Linked DNA regions of Homo sapiens: all the other regions are linked to region 1. Evidence: promoter capture Hi-C in human tissues and cell types (Jung and others, 2019). All regions are on one chromosome and are shown on one strand. The core of a region is centred on a gene start or on the middle of the fragment in contact, and the rest is flanking DNA. Distances in the headings are between cores, read along the strand shown. Region 1 holds the start of ATG14 (autophagy related 14). Region 2 has its middle 52 kb from the start of MIR4308. Region 3 overlaps GCH1 (GTP cyclohydrolase 1).

Evidence for each region. Contacts are between HindIII fragments. The study calls those that stand out against the background at their distance.
Region 2: a fragment that was not itself captured here is called in contact with the fragment with the promoter of ATG14 in region 1 in 1 of the 25 tissues and cell types used here (lymphoblastoid cells).
Region 3: a fragment that was not itself captured here is called in contact with the fragment with the promoter of ATG14 in region 1 in 1 of the 25 tissues and cell types used here (spleen).

The regions. Positions count from the first base shown.
Region 1 is chr14:55,410,187-55,413,762 of GRCh38, forward strand. ATG14 (autophagy related 14) reads right to left here and starts at 1,644. Exons shown (of 10, transcript NM_014924.5): 1 at 1,416-1,644. The coding sequence starts at 1,636. It also overlaps a transcript of FBXO34 not described here and the pseudogene RPL21P6. RefSeq lists a silencer at 1,634-1,933. The HindIII fragment of the contact is 14,251 bases long and covers 1-3,576 here.
Region 2 is chr14:54,824,102-54,827,677 of GRCh38, forward strand. No RefSeq gene overlaps it. Among named protein-coding and RNA genes, the nearest start is that of MIR4308, 52 kb to the right of the region's middle. The HindIII fragment of the contact is 5,372 bases long and covers 1-3,576 here.
Region 3 is chr14:54,887,490-54,891,065 of GRCh38, forward strand. All of the region lies in intron 1 of GCH1 (GTP cyclohydrolase 1), which reads right to left. Among named protein-coding and RNA genes, the nearest start is that of MIR4308, 11 kb to the left of the region's middle. RefSeq lists an enhancer at 3,225-3,474. The HindIII fragment of the contact is 7,404 bases long and covers 1-3,576 here.

The DNA of each region.
Region 1 (3,576 bases), core at 394-2,893:
TTAAAATGAAGATATCTATTACAAATCTAAAAATATTGATGTTGAATAAGCAGCTGTTTTCTGGACTTTAGAGAAGACTAGGTTGGAGATACAAGTCTGGCAGTCTTAAGCATATAGATGGTATTTAAATTATGTGAATAGACATAGTAAAACGTGTAGACAGACAAGAAGGTCCAGAACCAAATCCTCGATTCACTCCATCAGTTAGACATTTCCATCTCATACCCCGTATTCTTATAACTGGTTTAATTTTTAAAGCTATCACTTACTACATAAGCAGTTTCTAAAGTCATCAAGAGCACCAATAAGACACAGCAACAAAACTAAAAAAGAGTTTGTCATTCAAACCTCCTCAAAAGAGAAAGGAAAGAACTCCATCCACGATCACAGAAATACTAAGAACTCAAAACATTCCCAAATATAGAGGATATAAAGTCTAGTGGTTAAGTGCGGGTACATAGGTCCAAGCTGTCTGAATTTTAATTCTTGTACCAACACTTAACTATTTGTGTGACCTGGGGCAAAGCACTTACTGTGCAGCTTCCTAATAAGTTGGGGATAAGTCATTCGGTTGTTGCGAATGAATTAATACCTGAATTTTTGTGCTCAGAATGCTAGCTATCTTACTATCATTGACTATCATTGACACTAAATTGTTGAAACATAAGTTGAGAGTGGGAGATCCTGCAGCTAATCACACTAATTTTTCAATTTTCTTAACCAAGAACTTGTAGCTGTTTAGATTTCGAAATGAAACCAAAACATTTTCCTAAAGGCAATTCTCTTAACTAAAAGCATGCAGCTCCCAATCTGAATTTTAAAACAAGGCCAAAACACGTTCCCAAATTCCTAAGAATCTAAAATAATCTTTAGAGGCAGGGAGGGGAAAGGGGCGTTAACAGCAAGCCTCAATTCACACATTAGAGTAAGCATGTCTGATAACAAAGTCCATCTGTGACAGACTACCAGGCCCAAATCCCTCTAAAGCAGTTATTTGATTCTCTTCTACTCTCTCCTCTAGAGAATGAGTATAAATATGCTTTCGAAAATAGAAAGCCAAGCTTTTGAATGGGAGTACATACAGCAAAGAGCTGGGAATCTAACTTAATGGCAGCAACGGGAAAACTTCTCCAGAGAGTCACCACTTATTCCTTTTTTCCCCAGTGACCAAGAGCACCGTGGGGTCAAACTCCTCTTGGGTGGGTGATGGGGAAACGGCGACCTTCCCTCATCTGGCCCCTACGCTGTCCTCTGGTAGCAAAGCTCCGGTGCAGAGCAGCTAGCTACACTCCCTCTCTCTCGCTCCTCTCGCTGGTATCTGGTGCCCGGACGGGGAGCCCCAGGTTCCAGCCTTCGGCTGCCTGGCTGGAGGACACACAGCAGAAGAAACAATAGGGCCGTGGCGGCCGCCGTACCTCTCCCGGTCGCGGCCGTCGAAGTAGACGAAATCGCCGCTCTGAACGCATTTGGCGCAGGTCAGCCGCCGGCGGGTAGTGTTGCACAGCGGGCAGCGCTCCACAGCCACGTACAGCCCCTCCGCATCGTCCACGGAGTCCACCAGGTCCCGGGCGAGCGGCCGGGGCCCGCAGCCAGGAGCCTCCAGCGCCCGGGCTCCCTTCCCACTGGGAGACGCCATGATGGCCTGAGAGGAGAGCCAGTCACGTGGGATTTTGTTTTCAACCGGGTGCATTCTGGGCCAGGAGGAGGGGCCTGGGGAAGGGGGGCTGGGATGCCGGCGAGCCCCCGGACCCCTCCGCCGCCGCGTGTTCCTGTCCCGGGCACTGTTGTTTTTCCGGTCTGCTGAGGGGCAACAGGTCCCGAAGCAGGGGGAGAGTTATATTAGAGGGGCTAGTCGGCCAAACAAAATGTCATCTGCTGGCTCAGGCCAAGACTACGAGTTAAAGCCTCAAACTTGTGCAGAAAATTGTAATACCATACCCTAAGGATTCTGGGAAAACGGAATGGGAGCGGAATAAGGGAATTTAACTTGCTGTGGATGCTTTAAAATCTGGCTAAACTACAGCAAACAAAGTAGGGTGAAGGGGCTGGGTCTTGGAACTAGGTTGAATTTTGGCTCACTCACCTGCTTAATAGCTGTGTGACTTGGGGCAAGTTCCTTAATCTCTCTGCGCCTGTTCTCTCGTGTTAAATGGATAGAATTATAGTACCCATCTAATGCCGTGAGGATTAATATGGTTAATAGTATTATACTTTACCAATAGTGAAAACAACCAAAGTGAACGTGCAAAATCAGAATTGTATCCTTCTGAAAAGTTAATCACGTGGCTAACGTACCTTCCCTACCCTGGGCCATGCTCTAAGAGAATTTGAACTAGGTAGATGGTTAGGACTTCCCTTCAAGTTTCTTTTGGTGGATAGGGGATATATAAGGTGATGTGTTGGGAGGATCATATCAGAGTAATTAGTGTTTGAATATGCCTCTAAACTACAGAGAAAAGTGAGTTTATAGGTGAGATTAAATAGACCAGTGATTCTCAAGGATGATTTTACTAGGCTATCTACTGATAAACTGCCCTGAATTCTCTCTCTAGCCAGGATTCCTTTCTCAAGTTCCATACCCAAAGATCCAGAACTACTTACTAGGTATCAGGTGACATTCCAGGACACCACAAACTCAAAGTGTTGGAAACTGACTTCTGCCTCCCTACAAACCTGTTTTCTTACTTTGGTAAAGGACGTAATCACTGATGATTTACAGCCAAGAGCCATGATTCATATTAGCCCGTCCCTCCCTGTTAATCTCCACATCACCATCGAAAACTGGTGATTCTACAAGCTAATTAGGTCTTGAATCTGAGCCCTTTGCTCCTCCGTCTTCTTAATCTTACCCAGTCTTTTTAAATACAAATCACGTAGGATTACAAAAACAAGCAAAAGCAAAAATTCTCTATATTCAGAATACAGTTTACACTAAACTTGAATGGTTCCTGAAAGTTTAAGATTTATTTTTAAGTGAGAAGTCTTTCTCTCTGATCATTTCAAACAAAAGGATTATTTTTTAAGGTCTCGGGCTTATGTTTCATTTGTATTCAGACAGGATCCTTCACAGTGCTTAATACCTAATGATCAGGATCAACTGTTCAATATTTTAAAAGGCAAAAAATACACATTAATTCCTATCGTGCTAGATGATATCACAGATAGTATCTAGCTTATGCAGTTATTTGAAACTCCTATATGTTGCTATATATTTTCAGAGAACGCATATTAATGTATTACTTAACAGCAGAGCACTGAGGTTTTTGGATACAAAATGTAGTTTAAATATTTCTTTAAGGGGAGGGGGCGGCGCCACACTTCTCAATGAAGAGAAACATTTGTACAGTTCAGAATTTTTTTTGACACCTATTATGCCATGAACTCATAGGGAATAGGTTCCAGCAGCCCAGGCTCCCTCCATTGGTTCTAAGTGCTTGTCTGGGTGGAGCAGGCTGGCGCTTCAGTTGAACTCAGACACCTCTCCCTTTGACGTCTTTTTCTGATTATTTACCTTCACGCGTTTCAGGAAACTTACTTGGCTCTTAGAGTGCCAAGGCCCAGGCAGATGGATCAACT
Region 2 (3,576 bases), core at 774-3,273, 590 kb before region 1:
TTATGGAAGCCCCAGAAGAAGAGAGAGAAAGGACCAGAAATATTACTCAAAAAATAATGGCTGAAAACTTTCCAAACTTGGGGGAAGAAAATGGACATGCAGGTCCAAGAAGCCTAAAGGACACCAAGCAAGATGAATCCAAAGCAATTCACACTGAGGTATGTTATTATTGAATTGCCAAAAGCCAAAGACAAGGAGAATTTTGAAAGCAGCAAGAAAACAGTGACTTGTCACATATAAGGGAACCTCTATAAGATTATCAGTGGAATTTTTAACAGAAACATTGCAGGCCAGAAGGGAGTGAGATGATATATTCAAGGGGCTAAAAGAAAATACTGACAATCAAGAATACCCAGCAAAATTGTTCTTCAGAAATGAAGGAGAGATAGAGACTTTCCCAGACAAACAAAAGCTGATGGAGTTCATCACCGCTAGACCCGCCTTAAAAGAAATGCTAAAGGGAATTCTTCAAGTTAAAGCAAAAGAATGCTAAACAGCAACACAGTGTTATATTAAAGTTTAAAACTCATTAGTAAAAGTAAATATACAGACAAATACAGAATACTTTATTACTGTAATGGTGGGGAGTATATCACTTTTAATTCTAGCATAAAAGTTAAAAGATAAAAATATTTAAAATAACTATAACTAAAAATATGTTAAAGGAGTCATGATATGAATAGATGTAAACTGTAACAGCAATAACATGAAATGTGGGAGAGGAATTAAAAGTGTAGGATTTTTGTATGCAATTGAGTTTAAGTTGTTATCAGCTTAAGATATTCTAGATAAGCCCCCAGGAAATACCTATAGAAGTTACAAAAGAGAGAAAAGAATCAAATCATATTGTTTTAGTACCAGTTCTCCAGAGAAACAGGATGACATATGCATGCACACACACTCATATACATGTAATACACATTCATGTGTGTGTGTGTGTGTGTGTGTGTGTGTGTAGAGAGTGAGAGACTGAGATTGATTATGAGGAATTGCTTATGCAATAATGGAGGTTGAGAAGTCCCATAATCTGCCATATGGAAAATAGAAACCCTAGAGAGCCAGTGATATAATTCAGTCTGAGTCTGAAGACCTGAACACTGAAGATGTAAATCCCAGTTGAGGGATAAGGGATAAGCACACATTCAGGAAGCAAAAGAGGCAATTCCTCCTTTCATCTTTGTTATATTCAGGCCCTCAATGAGTTGGATGGTGCCCAACCACATTAGGGAGGAAAATCTACTTTACTAAATCAATTTTTGTTTGAGTGGGTCATGGGGTACCCAGGAAGGTGTAGGACTTCTTAAGCATTTCTTGTAGCCAGTCTTCTTCAAGGAAAAGTCTAAACTTGTGGTTTCGAGAGGAAGTAGAAATATTACTCAAAAAATGGAATGGGAACATTCATTCCTCCAGTAGCTTTGGCACTATCAGGTTAATGATTTCCTAAATCCAATGGCATTTCTATGGTATTTTCCTACCTACTTAGATGGGTTTTCTTACCAATATAATGCAAGCTCATTGTATAGAATTTGAAAAAGAGAGAAGGCAAATAAGAAAACTTACATGACTACTAAATAAATATTAAATAATAAATTTTCTTTTGTTTTCTTTTCTTTTCTTTTTCTTTTTTTTTTTTTTTTTTTTTTTTGAGATGGAGTCTAGCTCTGTCACCCAGGCTGGAATGCAGTGGCGCAATCTTGACTCACTGCAACCTCCACCTCTCGAGTTCAAGTGATTCTCCTGCCTCAGCCTCCCAAGTAGCTGGGATTACAGGCGCCCACCACCATGCCCAGCTAATTTTCGTATTTTTAGTAGAAAAGGGGTTTCACTGTATTAGCCAGGCTGGTCTCGAACTCCTGACCTCATGATCCCCCGACCTCAGCCTCCCAAAGTTCTGGGATTACAAGTGTGAGCCACCACACCTAGCCTAAAATAGTATTTTCTATTGCTCATGCATTTTGATGTTATTTGCTGCCATTGATCTTTGTTTGTTTGAGACAGAGGCTTGCTCTGTCGCCCAGGCTGGAGTGCAGTAGCACAATCTTGGCTCACTGCAACTTCCACCTCTTGGGTTCAAGTGATCCTCCTGCCTCAGCCTCCCGAGTAGCTGGGATTACAGGCACCCGCCACCACGCCCAGCTAATTTTTTGTATTTTTAGTAGAGATGGGGTTTCACCATGTTAGCCAGGCTGGTTTTGAACTCCTGACCTCAAGTGATTTGGCCTCCCAAAGTGCTAGGATTACAGGTATGAGCCACCATGCCCAGCCTGTTGCCATTGATATATATATATAATTTTATTATATACATACATAGTTTTATTATGTATATATAAATTATTTTTTATATATAATTATTTTATATATATATATAAAACAATGTATACACACACACACACACACACACACACAATTTTGTAATAAGCACCACCTAACATGGTGCCTGACAAAAGTAGTGGCTAAATAAATATTTTCTAAATAATAAGTGTTTTCACTAATAAATCATGAGTATTTTTTTGCATTTTAATGGCTGCGTAGTATTCATTCCTTCACATGGACATACCATGATTTATTCCAGTTGTTAGGTAAGTTATTTCAACTGTTAAATATTATGAACAATGCTAGAATAAACATTCTCATAGGTACATATGTGCACACACATCCACTTTGATTTACCCACATTCTCTTTCTGGAAACAACACTCTTGACATTGGGCACACCCATCTCTCATGGCTCCCCAAATTCTGATTGTGGGTGGTCTTTGGAGAGTTATCTTTTCTCCAATCTTCTCACTCTTCACTCTCTCCTTAGCTGACCTCAGCTCCAAGCACCATGTGTGTACTAACTGGTCTGCAGCTGACTTTCAGATCCCTGCCTCCAGCCCAGACCTCTCTCCTATGCACTGGCTAATTACTGGATGTCTCCACTTAGGTGTCCCACAGGGACCTCAAACAACATGTCTGAAACCGAAGGCTCCCCTGCTTACCTTACTCCCTCCAAGACCTCCCACATGACCATTTATCTCATTAACATTATCTCAGTGGTCAATGCTGCTGTGATTCCCAGACACCCAAGCTCCCAAACTGGGGACTGTCCTGGACCAATCTTCACCCAGTTGTAGACAAACCCTTCAGCTTCTCCCTCTTAAATCTCTCTGCTGTTCCCTTGTCTCAGCCTCCACTGCCACTGACCTAGTTTCAGCCTCATTATCCCCCCTGAATTAATACAATAGCCTCCTAAGCTGTCCATCCTCCAACTCTGATTACAACCCACAATCCCCTGCTTGACATCTTTCCACCAGCTTTTCGCAACTTCAATATCAGTTCTTGGGCAGGGCATGTCTGTGGTATGTCCTCTGCCTATCTCTTCGGTCTCTATCGCCACTACTCCCCTCTCCAACATGGGATCAACCTATAATAGAGCTTTTATTCAGTGTGCTTCAAATATTTGTTTACATTACATATATCTCTCCCTAGACTTGAGGACGGGGAAGTCTCACTCATATTTATACTCCAGCATGCAACACAGTTAAACCTAAGGAAACAAAGCCTTAACAAAGGCACTTGGAAGATCTGCGTTCTC
Region 3 (3,576 bases), core at 727-3,226, 520 kb before region 1:
GCAGTGGCAGGGGTTGGGGGCGGTAGGCGCTATTCCAGATTAAAACGTAATAATCAAATGCAAATGTATGGACCTTGAGTGGATCCTTGTTGGAAAAAATCATTAGTAAAAGACATTTGAGACACCTGAGGAAATGTGAATATATATTAGGTATTAGATGATATGAAGGAATGAATAGCTAATTTTACTAAGGGTGGTGTAAATCATTAAGAAAAACGCTTTTTAGGGTGACATTTCACCTCTAAATACATGTCTCTGATTTACTATCAGTAAACGAATAAACTACGCCAATATGGCAGAATGTTAGTTTTCAATCTAGGTGGTAAGTATATAGGTGTCTATTATATAATTTTGACTACTTTTATGTTTGAAGGTTTTACATAATAAAAAATTAAAGTTTACAAATACATGAGACTAACAGTGAATATTAGTTTTTTCGGTATTACTATTCTACCCAACCACTCCTTTTCTAGTTTATATGAAGCTTTATTAATAAACTAAAACTTCAAGCACTAGTAAAACTAACAACTGGTTATTATTTTGGTAGAAGCAACAACAACATTCTTGGGGGGAAAAGTCTTTAAATAAAGGCTCTGTCTAATCAAAGGAGCTACAGGTAGGAAGACCATAGATCCCAAGAACATTTAGATAAGAAACCTTTTCAAAAATCTGCATCATAAGAAAAAAGACAGAGACCTGTTACTATAGAAACGATTTGCAGGGCTTGAACATTTCCAGGGAAAACAGCACCTCTAGCAAGGAAAGGAGGCTGAAGAGCTTCCTAGGGCCTTGCCTGTCAGCTGCTGGAAGTCAACAGAGTGAGCGATGACAATTCTGACAGGCCCACCCATGCTCAGAGACCTCGGCATGACAATTTAACTCCTAGTCCTACTGCCTCTCCCTTCAGAACAGACCCAGAATAGTCAAGTGACTCACCTACCTAAGTTCATAAACCAGTTAGCATATTACTAGCCCAGGCTAGCTGTTCTTCCCATTACAGCAGCACAAAGCTTTGTTGACATACTAGTTTTTTTTTTTTTTGAGATGGAGTCTCACTCTGTCGCCCAGGCTGGAGTGCAGTGGCATGATCTCCGCTCACTGCAAGCTCTGCCTCCCGGGTTCACACCATTCACCTGCCTCAGCCTCCCGAGTAGCTGGGACTACAGGCGCCCACAACCACGCCCGGCTAATTTTTTTTTTTTTTTTTGTATTTTTAGTAGAGACAGGGTTTCAGCGTGTTAGCCAAGATGGTCTCGATCTCCTGACCTGGTGATCTGCCCACCTCAGCCTCCCAAAGTGCTGGGATTACAGGCATGAGCCACTGCACCCAGCCTATACAACTAGTTTAAGAAATACCAAGGAGATTTCAGAATTAGATCAGTGAACAGAATTTCCAACATGCTAAATATGAAGCTGAAAGATGTGCATCTACTTTTTATAAACTACTTCACTTATAAACAGCCCCAGCCCTCAAAAAGCTGTTTACTGTGGTGGAGGAGGGGTAGAAGGGGAGAAAGAGATGACACCAAAATGAAAGGACACGCAGCATGGGATAAGTATGGCCTCCGTGGAGGCAAAGCCTGACAGCACTAACAGCTGGAGGCTGTCAGCAAACTGTTCCTTGAAGCTGAAGGGCAGATTCTTTTTGATAGGCCATCAGAGAGGCATACCTCCAGGGCTGCCCATGTGATAAACGATAAATGGTGGGGTCAATTAGAGGGGTATGATCTACAGCAGCTATGCCTTAAAGTCAACTAGTCAGCGACCTCACTGAGTTAAGGCCTCTCATCTGATCTCCAGGCACGCATAGCCCTTCCTCACTGCTAACGAACACTGTACCACAAATGCCTAGACCACACAGGTAAAATTATATTTTAAGCTATTTTAGTGAGAGATTCCTTGTTTGGGATGTTTGCCAATGGCCTCTATTGAACTGAGTTCTGATTCCTGCTTAGGACAAATAAAAACTAATGTGTGATACATAAAACACATCACACTTCACAGGAAGAGCCATGGCCTCTTAGGACTGCACATCACAAACATTTGGACCAACTGGACCTCGAAAAATTCACCCAGAATTCAGTCACGGCCAATTTCCTCACCTAAACCTGGCTGCTTGTTCACAGAAGTCTCCATAAGCAACAGTTGTTGATAAGCAAGAGGCAGCAGCCACCTCCCCATGGTTGCCAACCAAAAACAAAAAGGACAGTAAAATAAATTACAGGAGGAGGGCAGATAATAAAGGCCAAACATTGCAAAAGAACAAACCTCAGGATCTTCACCTGGGTCTCCAGCTCCAGCAAGGAAATGAGACAGAGTGGTTTCTCAGATTAACTGTGCACTAAACTATGCACTAAACTAAAATACTAAATTGCCCTATATGAGGAAATGCGATGGAAGATAAGAAAAAAATGCCAAAAAATGTAGCAAGAGGCTACAACAGAACAAAACCTCACAGCAATGGTGAGGAAAGACAACAGAAAATCAATCAAGTGTTTTTTGCAAGGAAAAAACTTATTCAATTTTAGAAAAATCACTTTGGCATGAATGGATCAGAGCAGGACAAGCTAGGAGGCAAGAAGGCCAGTTAAGAGGTTATTGTAATTTAAGTGAAAGATGACTCAGATTCTAGAAATATTCAGGTGGTATATGTGTCAGAACTTTGTGAGCATGATTAGCCAAGGGGATTCACGAGAAAGAATAATTGCAGATAAAACAAATAACCAGGCCGGGAGCGGTGGCTTACGCCTGTAATCCCAGCACTTTGGGAGGCCGAGGTGGGCGGATCACCTGAGGTCAGGAGTTCGAGACCAGCCTGACCCACACGGAGAAACCCCATCTCTATTAAAAACACAAAATTAGCCAGGCTTGGTGGCGCATGCCTATAATCCCAGCTACTTGGGAAGGCTGAGGCAGGAGAATCGCTTGAACCTGGGAGGTGGAGGTTGCGGTGAGACGAGATCGCGCCATTGCACTCCAGCCTGGGCAACAAGAGCAAAACTCCATCTCAAAAAATAAATAAATAACCAGGTTACAAAGACTAGATGAAGTAGCAACATGTGTCAGGTTAAAATTCATTACAAGGGTTGACTATGGCCAGAATGAACTTTAAAGACATCAGATAAAGGAGCTGGCCCTAATGCCATTAATATTGATCTTTTAAAAGTTTAAAATAAATCTAATTGCCTTGAAAACTCCATTTAATTTTAACTCTGGTACAGGTAACTATGAATGTTAGTGTATGCCTTTTATTGAAAAACACTTAGACCATAATCTCTAAACCAGCATGGACACGTTCTGCAAAAAACAAACAACCCAAAAAAACTCAAAATGAATTTCCTTCTAGGTTCAACTCAAAAGCTACTTTCTCCATAACATCTGGACTTTCCTGTCTCTCCACCAGAAGCACCCAGCTTCCCTCTGACTACACAGAACCCCTTTACTCCTTGAAGGCCAAGATCAGGCCAACAATCATCTTTGTTTCCCCTTTAACAGTGACTACTCATAGAGACCATCTACAGTTCCACTTTTCACAGTTTCAGTTACCCTTGGTCAAACATGGTCTGAAAATACTAA